5 separate regions of the Homo sapiens genome follow, and regions 2, 3, 4 and 5 are each linked to region 1. The links are contacts of gene promoters, found by promoter capture Hi-C in blood cells and fetal thymus (Javierre and others, 2016). All regions are on one chromosome and are shown on one strand. Each heading gives the region's core, a stretch centred on a gene start or on the middle of the fragment in contact. The rest is flanking DNA. Distances are from core to core; before and after follow the strand shown.

Evidence for each region. The method cuts DNA at HindIII sites, captures the fragments that hold promoters and counts their contacts. A CHiCAGO score of 5 or more calls a contact.
Region 2: a fragment that was not itself captured here is called in contact with the fragment with the promoter of GPBAR1 in region 1 in 6 of 17 cell types (neutrophils, monocytes, total CD8 T cells and 3 more); the score reaches 15.5 in neutrophils.
Region 3: a contact is called between a fragment that was not itself captured here and the fragment with the promoter of GPBAR1 in region 1, in 3 of 17 cell types (neutrophils, monocytes and naive CD4 T cells). The highest score is 10.7, in neutrophils.
Region 4: a fragment that was not itself captured here is called in contact with the fragment with the promoter of GPBAR1 in region 1 in 1 of 17 cell types (neutrophils); the score reaches 6.1 in neutrophils.
Region 5: a fragment that was not itself captured here is called in contact with the fragment with the promoter of GPBAR1 in region 1 in 1 of 17 cell types (neutrophils); the score reaches 7.4 in neutrophils.

Annotation. Positions count from the first base shown.
Region 1 is chr2:218,259,579-218,262,426 of GRCh38, reverse strand. GPBAR1 (G protein-coupled bile acid receptor 1) reads right to left here and starts at 1,412. Exons shown (of 2, transcript NM_170699.3): 1 at 1,211-1,412. RefSeq lists an enhancer at 160-965. The HindIII fragment of the contact is 11,967 bases long and covers 1-2,848 here.
Region 2 is chr2:218,481,801-218,484,648 of GRCh38, reverse strand. It overlaps USP37 (ubiquitin specific peptidase 37), which reads left to right. Exons shown (of 26, transcript NM_020935.3): 17 at 2,415-2,579. Among named protein-coding and RNA genes, the nearest start is that of VIL1, 64 kb to the right of the region's middle. The HindIII fragment of the contact is 768 bases long and covers 1,113-1,880 here.
Region 3 is chr2:218,461,065-218,463,912 of GRCh38, reverse strand. It overlaps USP37 (ubiquitin specific peptidase 37), which reads left to right. Exons shown (of 26, transcript NM_020935.3): 22 at 547-607. Among named protein-coding and RNA genes, the nearest start is that of VIL1, 43 kb to the right of the region's middle. The HindIII fragment of the contact is 7,620 bases long and covers 1-2,848 here.
Region 4 is chr2:218,074,761-218,077,608 of GRCh38, reverse strand. It overlaps RUFY4 (RUN and FYVE domain containing 4), which reads right to left. Exons shown (of 13, transcript NM_198483.4): 9 at 1,869-2,516; 10 at 1,076-1,182. Among named protein-coding and RNA genes, the nearest start is that of RUFY4, 6.9 kb to the right of the region's middle. RefSeq lists an enhancer at 1,080-1,581. The HindIII fragment of the contact is 2,489 bases long and covers 160-2,648 here.
Region 5 is chr2:218,439,400-218,442,247 of GRCh38, reverse strand. It overlaps VIL1 (villin 1), which reads right to left. Exons shown (of 20, transcript NM_007127.3): 19 at 1,386-1,526. Among named protein-coding and RNA genes, the nearest start is that of VIL1, 22 kb to the right of the region's middle. The HindIII fragment of the contact is 5,722 bases long and covers 1-2,848 here.

The DNA.
Region 1 (2,848 bases), core at 163-2,662:
TTCGGACAGTCCCCACCCAGCCAGCTTTATCCATTTCTGGTATCTGCCTTTTCTGGGCAGCTGTGTTGAGGTCTCTTGTTTAGACTGAAAGGCGGGCCCATCCAGCCCCAAAGCATTTTGTGTATCCCTGCCTCCACCGGGGAGGCCTCTAAATGAGAGAATGGACCAGGGCTGGCTGGTGTGTAGTGGTCTTCCAGCCAGCCATTAGGTGACAGGCTCCAGCGGGCCAGGTCTCGGGCACCCTGCACCCTTCCCCCCATCTGTCCTTGTAGCCATCACAGCTCAGTGAGCAGCCTCCGGGTAGGACTTCCAGCCCATAAACTTGACTCGTCTTTGCTCCACACTAGCAACAGGGTCCTTCCTGGGAGCTGGAGGGAGGAGAGAAGCAGCTGGAGGGCACGTGTGGCAGTGAACGTGGAGATGCCAGCAGCAAGGAGAGGGACTCCCCCACACCCCCAGGCCTGAGGCTGAGCCCAGAGGAGAGGGAAGAGGAGTCTGGGCAGAGTCTGGCTTCTCTGTGGCTCTCATCTGTCCCTGTCCTTCCCGTCATTCCCTGGTCTCAGTCCTCCAGTGTCATGGCTCTGCTGCCACATCCTGGGGACAGGGGGAGGGGTCCTGGGTCCTGTGGGAACTCCTGCTTCTGTCAACAGGGGAGCAGCTGCTGTTGCTAGGATCCAAGTCAATAAGGAAAGGATTCATACCTCTCCCCTCCTCCAGGACAGGGGATCAGGGCCCCATGGCTGCCCTGAGCTGAGAGGAAGGAAGATGCTCCCCTTCCTTCCCAGGTTCCCCCAGCACCCTGAGCCTGGGCCTCCAAGGCCTTATGCCCCCTTTCCCCTCCCCTAAGCATGTTTTCTCTTTCTCAATCTCTTCCAGTGCCCTCCACCCAGGATGTCTTTTCCTCTCTAGAGGCCTTGCAGTTTCTGTTCCCTTTCCCAGGGCATCATCAACTCTCTTAAGTCCCGTGAGACTCAGGGTCCATTACCCCAAACCTGGCCTGAGCTGGAGCTCCCAGCCCTAATCGGAATGATTCCCCCCAACCCACCTCCACTAGAACAGCGACAAAGGCAGGGAGCAGCCCCCAGGGGTGATTTCCCAGCAGGGTGCAGGCTGTACCACCTGCACACCCCCGAGGGTCTGGTGGCTTGGGCTGGGTGTAGTAGCCTCTCCAGGATCTGGGGTTTGGGGGTTTGGGGGAGTAGCTACTCACATGGCTGTTGGGAGCAGGTATTGCCTGCCCAGCCTGGGCCTTCCTGAGTGTCAGGGAGTTGCTGCAGCCAGCCCTGCAGCGGTTTGGACCATGTCTGGTGTCCTGGCTGAAGAGCACAAGTGGACCAAGTGCATGGTGTCTCCACCCAGTGGGGACAGCGGGGCCAGGCTCTCCTACCCAGGCTCTGCCCGTCTGGGTTCTCAGAGGGATAGAGAAATGAGGCTGGCAGGACTCAGCCCTGGCCCCGCCTCTGGGAGGGTGGGACCTGACATATTCCAAACTGCAGCAACTGGGAGGCCTGCCTCCCCCTCCCACCCAGTTCCCCTCTCCCCCTGCCACCTAGGTGGCAGTTTCCCTACTCCAGCTCGGAGTAATCTGAGAAATGCATTCCAGTTAATGAATAATAATGATTGACTTACCCCTCCCGACTTCCCGCCTCAGCTGATGCATTTACATTTAAGCCCCTGGACTGGCCAGCCAGCTGACAGCACACCAGGCTCCCTCCACACTTCCGTGTGTGATGGTGGCAGTGGCAGGTGTTTGGGGCCTGAGGATCTTCACTCCCCCATCCCATCACCTGATGGGCCTTTCAGTTTCTAAGGCCAGACTTGCCTTCCTGAATCTGGGGTCATTCCACACTTTTCTCAACTGCTTTCTGAGTCAAGTTCTGAACTATGAGGGACAAATGGCTCTGGGGATGTGACCATGGGTAAGGTACTACTGGGCCTCGGTTTTTGCCTGTGTTAAAATGGGAACAAGAAAAACCACCTCTAATTAAGGTCGTGGTGGGGAATATCACAGGATAACACATATGGCGGCATATACCCCAGTGCATGGCCCTTGATGGGTGGGGGTTTGCCCCAACAAATGGCTCCCTCTCTTTCCTCCCCCATGATGAAGAGGCATGAGCTGGCGCTGGAATCAGAGCTGTCTGGATCCTTTTTTAAAAAAGCCAGTGAACTTGGGCAAATGACTAAAGTTCCCTTGCCTTAGTTTCCTCATCTGTCAAATGGGGCCCATAGTTGTACTCACCTATCGTGAGACTAAATGAAGTCCCGTGTGATGAGGACTCAGATCAACACTTGGCCCTTCAGCACTCCGCGACAGGCAGCGATCGCTGGGAACATTATTAGGATTTCTGCCTTTCTCTGCACCTGGCCCCTCTAAGACAGATCTGCTGAGAGGGGCGCATGGGGAGCTTGGGAAAAGCAAGAGGGGAGTGACACTCTTGCTGCACAGGGAAGCTGAGGAAACCAGATACATTGAGAGGGAAGGGCAAGTTCAAGGCTGGGAAGCCAGAAGTGGTGCTTTGATTTCCACCTTGTATCAAGTGCGGCTTTGGAGTGAGGGGGAGGAGAGAAGCCCAGCCACACTCCCTTAAGGCCTGAAATGGGAGGGAACAGGCGGAAATTGCAGCAGGAAAGCTGGGACTGGGGGTGAGACATTAGGAAACACTTGCTGGCTGAAGAGCGCAAGTAAATGGAGCAAAGGGACTCTGGTGCTCTCCGGGAGAGCTGGGCCTGAAGGGCTGGAAGCCCGTGGAGTGTGGCTGTGCCAGCTCTGCACAGCCAGTCAGGGATCCTGGAGATCAGGGACTTCTGTTGGGACAAAAAGTGGGAAGAGGAAAGCATCCAGCCT
Region 2 (2,848 bases), core at 247-2,746, 220 kb before region 1:
TGTTGTTGTTGTTGTTGTTGTTGTTTTGATACAGAGTCTTGCTCTGTCCCCCAGGCTAGAGTGCAGTGGCACGATCTCAGCTCACCGCAACCTCTGCCTCACGGGTTCAAGCGATTCTCCTGCCTCAGCCTCCCGAGTAGCTGGGATTACAGCTGTATGCCACCACACCTGGCTAATTTTTGTATTTTTAGTAGAGACGGGGTTTTGCCATGTTGACCAGGTTGGTCTTGAACTCCTGACCTCAGGTGATCCACCTGCCTTGGCCTCCCAAAGTGCTGGGATTATAGGCATAAGCCACCGCGCCGGGCCAAGGAAGTTGGTTTTAAAGAAATGACTTTATAAAGGCTGGGTGTGGTGGTTCACGCCTGTAATCTCAACATTTTGAGAAGCCAAGGTGGAAGGTTTGCTTGAGACCAAGAGTTCAAGACCAGCCTGGGCAACATGGTGAGACCCCCATCTCTACAAAAAATGTTGTGTTTTTTGTTTTTTTCAAACAGAGTCTCGTTCTGTTGCCCAGGCTGGAATGCGGTGGCATGATCTCGGCTCACTGCAACCCCCGCCTCCTGGGTTCAAGCGATTCTCCTGCCTCAGCCTCCTGAGTAGCTGGGATTACAGGAACGCGCCACCACGCCTGGCTAATTTTTGTGTTTTTGGTAGAGACAGGGTCGCGCCGTGTTGGCCAGGCTGGTCTCAAACTCCTGACCTCAGGTGATGTGGCCGCCTCGGCCTCCTCAAGTGTATAAATCATAGCAGTATTATTATATTGACTTAAGAGACTTATATTTTTGGATTAAGAGAATTTGTTCTTTCCTGTTTGTGAGTGGTTTGAGGCCAGGAAGGTGGGAGGAAGAATCTTAAGGCAAAGAATTGGTTGTTACCAGCTGTCACTAAGGAAATTATGTGTACAGTTAAAAAGACTAGTTTTGACCTCACATGCTGGATGTCTTTTCTCTTTCCCATTCTCTTGCTATTTGGTTTTTCAAGTGGGGGGAAAAAAATGCTAAGGGGAATTTTTCTCCTTGTTTTTCTTTCTTTTTTTTCTTTTTTTTTTTTTTCCTGGTAGATCACTTGTGTTAAAGGTTAATTTATTCCAGACTTATGTGATAGAAGCTTCTGTTTGTCAAATCCTAATATTAGTTTTGTTCTACTTTTGTTCAATTTAATATTCAAAGCCACTCTTTAAATCCTAATGATTAGTCTTGTTCTACTTTTGTTCAGTTTAATATTCAAAGCCACTCTTATTCTTGAAGAGCCTGATGCCATTATCAAATCTGTTCACAAAGTTGGGCCTCATCTTTGAAGATCAGTGATTTTGACTATCATTTTCCTGTTTTATATTACCTTCCCCCCCACCTTTTACTGCTCCATGCATAGCAGGGCTACACTATAGGCAGTGTGTCCAGAGTAGCCTCATATTACCTTTTATTTTGGTTAGGTTATTTGAAATTCTAGTTAAAATATTTAATTTTGACATTGGTTTCATATCAGTTGTGTCCTTGTATTCTCTCAAATTGTATATTTGAAGATCCTGAGTTCTAGCACGCTTTTTAAAGAGAACTACAATCTATAACTTCAGTTTGCAAATTTTTGTTTGTGGCTTCTGTGATGAAGGCATATATGGTAAGAATCAGTTTTTTATAGATCATTTTTGTGTGTGTGCCTAGAACTGAAGTTTATTCCCATAAGATGTTTGAAATTCAATTTTTAAAGTGTTCTTGTGGGTTGAGAAATATATTTAATCCATCAAGCAGAGATCGTGTTCTGTGTGAGAAGTGAAAAGGTTACCACAATTTTAACCACAAAGAATTCAGTGCTTCTAAAGAGCTAAAAGCCTTTACAGACCCACAGATCAGATTTGGCATGCAAATTTTTGTAAAGCTTTTTTCTAAATGGGGAAAAGTTTTGTATTTCCTCCTTAGCTTTCTACAGAGAAAGTACTTCTGAAAATAAAAGAATAATTCTCATCAAAAATCATCTTGAAGTAATTAATGTTTACCATCAAATATAAGAGCTATGTAACATTTTAATAGACATTATTTTACTAGTAGTGGTTATATAAAACCTATTGCTTTTTAAACTATGTAACAGTGAAGTAAATAATTTAAGGATTTAACCCAATATCAGTGCCAAATTTAACATTCTTGTCTGCTATATTTTATTTATTTGTGTTTTTTCTAGGAACATTATAAGTATTTTACCCAAACCACACTAATCCACCATTATTTGTATGCTTTTTACCTAGCCCAATGCCTGGCACTAACAGGTATTCAGTAAATATTCTTTGACGTGTCTTTGGTTTGGCCAAATGGATTTTTTAAATCAAAAGTCGTCTAACATAGAGTGATCTCTTTTACTGTAAGAAAGATACATGTATTATGTATGAATTAGTAAGGTTGTCATCTCCTGTTTTTCAGGGTCCTCATTCTCCATTTGAAACGATATAGCTTCAATGTGGCTCTCTCGCTTAACAATAAGATTGGGCAGCAAGTCATCATTCCAAGATACCTGACCCTGTCATCTCATTGCACTGAAAATACAAAACCACCTTTTACCCTTGGTTGGAGTGCACATATGGCAATGTAAGTCCTTGAGAGACTATGTCTTTATATTCCCTTTTGAAATAGAAAGGCTTTAGTATCTAATCAAAAGAATGACTGAATTACATAATATGACTCCAAGGTAAAATCAGATCAATGGCCAGATGCAGTGGCTCATGCCTGTAATCCCAGCACTTTGGGAGGCTGAGGCAGGAGAATCGCTTGAGCCTAGGAGTTTGAAACCACCTATGGCAACAGAGCATGACCTCATCTCTACAAAAAATAAAATAATAAAGCCAGCATGGTGGCAC
Region 3 (2,848 bases), core at 104-2,603, 200 kb before region 1:
CTGCCCTCCAGCCTGCCAACAGAGCAAGACTCCCTCTCAAAAAAAAAAAAAAAAAAAATCTTAAAAAATACTGGAGTGGGCCGGGCGCAGTGGCTCACACTTGTAATCCCAGCACTTTGGGAAGCCGAGGTGGGCGGATCACAAGGTCAGGAGATTGAGACCACCCTGGCTAACATGGTGAAACCCCATCTCTACTAAAAATACAAAAAATTAGCTAGACGTGGTGGCGGGCGCCTGTAGTCCCAGCTACTTGGGAGGCTGAGGCGGGAGAATGGCGTGAACCCAGGAGGCGGAGCTTGCATTGAGCCGAGATCACACCACTGCACTCCAGCCTGGGGGACAGAGCGAGACTCCGTCTCAAAAAAAAAAAAAAAAAAAAAAAGTAAAGAACTTCCCCACATTCCTCAAAAGGTAATATTCCAAACATCCATAAGGTTATAGAAAGCATTCTTAGCAAATGCTTCCAGAGAAACTGATTTTATCCTCATTAAGTAAGTTTAATCAGTACCTCTTTAAATACCTTAGTTTTTGTTCTTTTCCCTTTAGGAGGCTTGGGAACAGAAAGAAGATGATGACCTCAAAAGAGCTACCGAGTTAAGTCTTCAAGGTGTGGAGATCTTTTTAATTACATTTTTTTAATGGTAAAATTACCATTCACACATAGAAGAACATATAAAGAAAGTGTGTGTGTGTGTGTGTGTGTGTGTGTGTGTGTGTGTGTGTGTGTGTGTGTGTGTTTATTGTGGGGGAGAGCCTCTCACTCTGTCACCCAGGCTGGAGTGCAGTGGTGCAATCTTGGCTCACTGCAACCTCCACGTCCTGGGTACAAGCAATTCTCATGCCTCAGCCTCCCGAGTAGCTGGAATTAGCGGTTGTGCCACCACACCCAGCTAATTTTTGTATTTTCAGTAGAGACGGGGTTTCACCATGTTGGCCAAGGCTGGTCTTGAACTCCTGGCTTCAAGTGATCCACCCTCCTCAGCCTCCCAAAGTGCCGAGATTACAAGCTAAAATGTGTTTTTTGATAACAAATTTGAATACCTCCCAGGTAAAGAAATAGAACCTTAGAAGTAACCTTTATATCTCTCCTTTTTGTCTTCCTCCCAGAGGAAACCACTATTCTAACATTTGTATTCATCTTCAGCTTGCTTTTTTCAAAATAATTTTTGTCATCTATACCCATATCTCTAACAATATGTTTTTTAATATTGAAAAATTAGCAAGAACAATCTATCATCTGTTTAATGAAAGAATTATAATTTTGCCACTGTTACGACTCCTAGAAGAACATAATGTGGCTTCAGTTTCCCCGTGAATTTTCAAGAGCTTATTCTGGGGCAGTCAGTGGGCAGTCATGAGTGAGTGTATTCAGTAGCATAAGGTTCACATGTCGTAGCATTTGGCAGAACTAATATGTGGACCAGGTTTTAGAAGTCCATGAGTTAGGAAGCTGGAAGAAGTAGATGTAGGAATCTGTTTCTCAAACAGCTTTTACCTAATCTTTATTTTATCCCCTCCTTATCCCCCAGTTTCAGAGGTACCTGGTTCCTGGTTCTTCCATGTCTTCATTTTTTTGGAGACAGGGTCATGCTCTGTTGCCCAGGGCCTGGAGTGCAGAGGCGTGATCTCTGCTCACTGCAACCTCTGCCTCCCGGATTCAAGTGATTCTTGTGCCTCAGCCTCCTGAGTAGCTGGGACTATAGGCGTGCACCACCACACCCAGCTAATTTTTTAATTTTTTTTTTTTCTTTTTTTGAGACAGAGTTTCACTCTTGTTGCCGAGGCTGGAGTGCAATGGCACAATCTTGGCTCACTGCAAACTCAGCATCCCAGGTTCAAGCAGTTCTCCTGCCTCAGCTTCCCAAGTAGCTGGGATTACAGGCACCCACCACCACATCCAGCTAAATTTTGTATTTTTAGTAGAGATGAGGTTTCACCATGTTGGCCAGGCAGGTCTCGAACTCTTGACCTTAGGTGATCCACCTGCGTTGGCCTCCCAAAGTGTTGGGATTGCAGGTGTGAGCCACCGTGCCCAGGTTCCAGCTAATTTTTTATATTTCATTTTAGTAGAGATGGAGTTTTGGCATGTTGCCCAGGCTGGTCTCGAACTCCTGATCTCAGGCAGTTCACCCACCCGCCTCGGCCTCCCAAAGTCCTAGGATTAGAGGTGTGAGCCACCATGCCTGGCCTAGTTCTTCCATGTCTTCTTGTGTCTTTTGAACATTCAGTGATATAAATTGGATTAGTTTTCAACTTTTCCATTGCTGGCTTGGGGTATGGCTTTGGCTTTCTTAGGTCTGCTGAGTCAGTCACACATGTATTTCCAACTTCCAGAATTTTGAAGCTATATTCTCTTTTCCTGTTCTTCACATTCTTAGATTTTCTTTTTTCTTTTTTTTTTCTTTTGAGATGGAGTTTCTCTCTTGTTGCCCAGGCTGGAGTGCAGTGGCGTGATCTTGGCTCACTGCAACTTCTGCCTCCTGAGTTCAAGCGATTCTCCTGCCTCAGCCTCCCAAGTAGCTGGGATTACAGGCATGTGCCACCATGCCCAGCTAATTTTGTATTTTTAGTAGAGGTGGAGTTTACCATGTTGGTCAGGCTGGTCTCCAGCTCCTGACCTCAGGTAATCCACCTGCCTCGGCCTCCCAAAGTGCTGGGATTACAGGTGTGAGCCACCGTGCCTGGCTTCATTCTTAGATATTCATGTGATTGTAAATCACACTATACTGTGATTTTAGTGGAGCTAATTATATATTAAAGCAAATAACCATTTATGTACAAATGCTCCTGGGATTCTTTATTTAACACCATTAGTAAAGATGGATGCTTCCAGTGGACACGTATTATT
Region 4 (2,848 bases), core at 155-2,654, 180 kb after region 1:
GGGCAGACTGACGTACCCGGAGACCACAGGAGAGAGACACAGAGAGGCTGAGTCAGGCCACGGAAGATCTCTGCAGTGAGAAGAGACTTTAAAAAATAAATTATGGGCTGGGTGTGGTGGCTCATGCCTGCAACCCTAGCACTTTGGAAGGCTGAAGCTTGAGCCTAGGAATTTGAGACCAGTCTGCACCATGTAGTGAGACCTCGTCTCTACAAAAAGAAAGAGAGAGAGAGAGAGAGAAACTGAGACCTGAGAGACTGAGGACTGAGGGGGGATGGTAGAGACAGACAGCGTGCTGTGGGCCCCTGAGGTCAATGTGATGACGGAAGATGAAGACACTGGATGGTGAGAGACACTGAGCAGGAGAAACGGAGAGACTGAAGTGCAGGCACTCGACATGCTGCCTGAATGGGGCGTCTGAGCCCACTGGTTCTGGAGTCAGCTGCAGGCCTTGAATCTCAGCTCCCCCGCTAACTAGCCAATGGTGGGTGAATTGTGCAGCATCTTTGAGCCTCAGCTTCCTCCTCTATAAAATGGGGGTTCTATAGAACTCATCTCATAAGGGTGTTACGCAGAAGCACCGACAGCAGTGCCTGGGACGTAGTAAATGCTTAGTAAATGATAGCTGTGATTATGAGAGGGTGAGAGGTGGCATAACAGGAAGAAGCAAATGAGACACAAAGAAACTGAGTAAAAAAGGGAGACAGAAAGAGATGGGGGAAAGAAGTCCAGTGGAGTAGGGAGGCAGAGAGGGTGAAAAAGAGAGAGGAGCTGCCCAGGGGAGGCAGCAGAGGGAGGCAGGGGTGAGGGTGGGAAGGAAGCAGGCCAGGAGGCGGGGCCTTTCCTGGGGCTGCTCCTGCTCTGGGAGACCTACGAGAAAGGGATGCACAGAGGAGGGAGGGTGGAGCCCTGGGATCAGGAGCAATGCCCTGCAGGCCTCAGATCCCAAAGGTGTGCCCAGTCCAGGGCCTGGTGCATGGGAGGTTCTCACAAGACCTCACTGGCTTGACCGTGATTGACAGCAGGACCTAGGGAGCACTTCCAGGTGCCCTGTGCTGTGGGTTGCCAAGGTTACCTGCTGAGCTGCTCCCGAAGTGCCTGCAGCTCCCCCTCCTGCTCCCTCAGCAGCTGCTCCTGGCGCTGGGCCTGCTCCTCAGCCTTCCGGAGCCCAAGTCTGAGGCTCTGTGGGGTGGAAGGAGGGGAGAAGGAGGCTGAAGGAGAAGGGCAGAGACCCCAGTGCTGGGGCTGACCTGAACAACATTCCCGAGAGACCCCAGGCCATGCCCTGGCAGGGCTGGGGACAGTGCTGGGAGCTGTGATGCCTGGCTCTGTCCTAGGCCCTGCTTCTGGGTGTGCCTGGGCCACGGTTTCTTCCTTCACTGAAGGGTGGAAGTTGTAAACTCAGAAACTTGCAAGTTCCTGGGTGGAGGCCGAAGGGAGGCTTGGTGACAATCTTGAGTGACCTCCAGGAGAAGCATCCACCACAGGAGCAACTAGGTGGGCTCTGCAACAGTAGAACTTAGATTTCGGGAAGAGACTTACCATCATGAGGATATGGAACTGGAGAGAGGAAGTGACTGCCTGGAAGAACTGCTGGGAAGGGATCTCAAACTCCAAAGCCTACTGGGGCTGGGCAAGAAGTATTGCCGAATAAAGTGGGTCTAGCGTGGGGCAATAGGGAGAGGCGGGGACTGTGGGGACCTGAAGAATGTATGGCTTTCAAAGGCATCCCCAAATAATAATCCTGAGTGGGCCAATAAAAATTGACCCGTGGGAGGGAATGGTCCCAGGCTACCATTGCAGACCCTCATCTGTGGGCCAGGTCAGACAGGGGCAAATAACCAGGTATGGAGCTCAACTGTTCTCACCTTGATCTCGTCCTGCAGGGACACCTCGGCTTGCTCCTCCCTTCTGGCCACAAGGGTCACTTCTGTTTGCACTTGTGGATTCTCCACGGTAGAGTCTTCCTTTGTTGCGTGTCCCTGAAGGACCCAGGGCTCCCCCAGGATGCTAGAGCCCCCCGACCCCTGCCTGCTCCCTGATACTGCTCCCTCTACAGCCCCTCTGGGGCTGGGCATCAGCAGCCTCTGGACGTGACTCCACTCTGCTTCCTTTTTGTGAGTCCCCTCTGTTGTTCTCTGACCCTCTGCAACCAGCAGAACCCCTGTGACCTCAGCCTCCATCCCTATCACCTCCTTCTGAGTGCCCATAGCCCCCTTCCCCTGTCCCTGGGTGCTGGGTGTTGAGTTCCCCAGGAAGATCTCAATCCATGGGGCTCTTTCCTCCTGGTCTAGCTGAAGCTCCTTCCCTTCTGGCTCCCACATGCTCTGGGGGTACCTATGTTTCCTGGAACTTTCCCCCTTCTTTTCCAAAAAGAAAGGAAGATGCCTTTGTTGCTGGGACCTGGGAAGCCCTGCCAGCTGCTGTCCACTGGGTGCATCTTGCAGACAGATGGCTTGACTGGTGTGTGAGTCCTCAATCTGGACATTTTCAGGCCCTCCATATGCGGCTGGGATCTGTGGAGAGGACCCAAAACCAGTCATCCCTCTCAGCACCAATTCACTGACCTGGTGCCATTAGATTAGGCCACAGTGCTAATCTAATCAGCTTGCTAAATAGATAGGTACCAGGTCCTCTCACTGGAAGCTTTGATTTATCAAACCCCAAATCTGACTTTTAGCAACACCCAGGTGATCTGAGCGCCATGCTTTGGTCTGGTGAGGGACATCCTGATGTCCTTCTGTCCCTTCCCGCAGCCCACATCCTTCTCCCTCCTGCACCTGGGTCTTGGGTATTGATCTGGTTCCCCCTAAGTTCCTCTCACTCCTTTCCTTTAATTTTTCCTCCC
Region 5 (2,848 bases), core at 141-2,640, 180 kb before region 1:
TCCAGTTTTCTATCTTGGAGAATGATGCTATTTTCTCTTCTCTCATACTCTTTATCCAGTAATTACCAAATATCATTGATTTTACCTCCTAAATGTTTCTCTCCACCTCCTCCACCATGACTTGTTCTAGGTTCCCACCTACCTGTCGGCCTGAGAGCAGCTGTGCTGTCTCTCCTAACTGGTGTTCCTATGGCTGCTCTTGCCACCTTCCAGGCTATTGTTCGATGAGAAGCTATAATTATTATTATTATTATCATTTTGAGATGGAGTTACACTCTTGTCGCCCAGGCTGGAGTGCAATGGTGAAATCTCGGCTCACTGCAACCTCCACCTCCTGGGTTCAAGTGATTCTCCTGCCTCAGCATCCCGAGTAGCTGGGATTATAGGCACAAGCCACCATGCCCGGCTATTTTTGTAATTTTAGTAGAGATGGGGTTTCACCATGTTGGCCAGGCTGGTCTCGAACACCTGACCTCAGGTGATCCGCATTCCTCGGCCTCTCAAAGTGCTGGGATTACAGGCATGAGCCACCGTGCCAGGCCAATGTAAGTCTGTCACTCTGCTACTTCAACCATAATGATACTCCCCTTCACCACCAGGATACATGATACGATCCTTAACTTGGGGTAGAAGGCACTGCCAGTTCAGCCCTGCCTCCCTCCCTGGCTCTGCACACCACCACAGCCACTCTGGCCCTCTTGCAGTTTTGCCCCCATTTTTATTCCTTGCCTTTGGGCTTCATGTTAGCTGTCCCTTCTCCAGAACTAACTTACTTTGCCTCAATAATTCCTATTTGTCTTTCAGAAAGAAATCTCTAAATCAGGCTCCTCTTTGTAATACCTTTTTTTTTTTTCTTTTTTTGAGACAGTCTCACTCTGTCACCCAGGGTGGAGTGCAGTGGCATGATCTTGACTCACTGCAACCTCCACCTCCCGGGTTCAAGCAATTCTCATGGCTCAGCCTCCCGAGTAGCTGGGATTACAGGCATACACCACCACACCTGGCTAATTTTTGTAGTTTTAGTAGAGATGGGGTTTCCCCATATTGGTCAGGCTGGTCTCAAACTCCTGACCTCAGGTGATCCACCCACCTCGGCCTCCCAAAGTGCTGGGATTACAGGCATGAGCCACTGCACCCGGCCCTGTTTGTAATACTCTTCACAGCTCCTGTACTTCACCTTTCTGGCACTTAACCCTGAAATTAAATAATAGTGTAACCAGGCTTCTCTGATCTCTCTCCTCCTGGGATATAAGGTGGCATGAAGGCAGGATCCCATCTGTCTTGTTCATCCCCAGCACCTAGTCACCTGCAGGGCCAAATCTGGGAGTCAACTATGGTGGTCCAACAAATGGACTTCTTTGTCTTCCTTTGAGAATCTGACCTACCTCCTTCCTGCTGGGGTCCACACCCTCGGGGAGCTCCTCTACAGGCTTGTTCACTAGCTGCTCCAGGGGGAAGATGGGCAGAGGCCCAGAACTGAGGTTGCTGTTAGCATTGAACACGTCCACTTTGGGGCTTGTGACCTCCTAGGAAAGAAAAGGAAACCACTGGTTACTTTAGCTGGTGCACAGCTACCTCCCAGGCTGCCTTTCTCTCTGAAGTCTCTAGGGCACCACCTTCAAGAAGCCTCCCATGTCCCACCCCACCCTGCCACACACACACTCATAAGAACAACATAGGCTGGGTGCAGTGGCTCACGCCTGTAATCCCAGCACTTTGGGAGGCTGAGGTGGGTGGATCACTTGAGGTCAGGAGTTCAAGACCAGCCTGTCTAACATGGTGAAACCGCATCTCTACTAAAAATACAAAACTTAGCCAGGTGTGGTGTCAGGCGCCTGTAATCCCATCTACTCAGGAGGCTGAGGTAGGAGAATCGTTTGAACCTGGGAGGTGGAGGTTGCAGTGAGCTGAGATTGCGCCACTGCACTTCAGCCTGGGCAACAGAGAGAGACTCCTCAAAACAACAACAACAACAACATAGAGCTTAGTGGTCTGTTCTGACCGAAGTCCATTGGTGGAAAATGACTCTTTTCTTTAACGATTCATTAACTTTCCCATGGCTTTCCCCAGAGTTGGAGATCTAGCCTGGATATTTATGACCCTGTCTCTCTTATCTGTTGTGAAATTGTCATCTATAAATTCACTTAACCTTGACCTATCTATACATGCCAGTCTGTACTGTCAGTCCACCAAGAAGGGTTTCATGAGTGCTGCAGGTTTTGACCATCTGTTGATTATACCCCAGTGTGCTTGTGAACTTGCTCTTGAATTCTGGACACATTCCTCAGAGTTAGCTCTGTCTTGTTCTCTCTATAAGCCTGTGAACTTCTCAAAGCAAAGGTTTTGATTTCATATTCCCGTGTCCCAGGCCTAAAGGCTAAATACATTTTTTTTCTTTTCTTTTTTCGGGTTTTTTTTTTTTTTTTTTTTTGAGACAGGGTCTGACTCTGTTGCCCAGGCTGGAGTGCAGTGGCACAATTTCAGCTAACTGCAACCTCTGCCTCCTGGGTTCAAACCAACCTCCCACCTCAGCCTCCTGAGTAGCTGGGACCACAAGCACGCACCACCACACCTGGCTGTTTTTTATTTTTTGTAAAGATGGGGTTTCCCCATGTTACGAAGACTAGTCTCAAACTCCTGGGCTCAAGCAATCCACCCACCTCGGCCTCCCAAAGTGCTGAGATTACAGGCGTGAGCCACTGTGCCCAGCCTAAATACACTTCTGTTAACTCACTGAAAGACCAAAGGAGTTGTAGTTATTCTACCTAGAGAAGGGATCCCAAAGGTGATGGAGTATAGAGACAGCATTATTTCTCAAAGTGTAGTCCATGGACTAACTACATGAAAT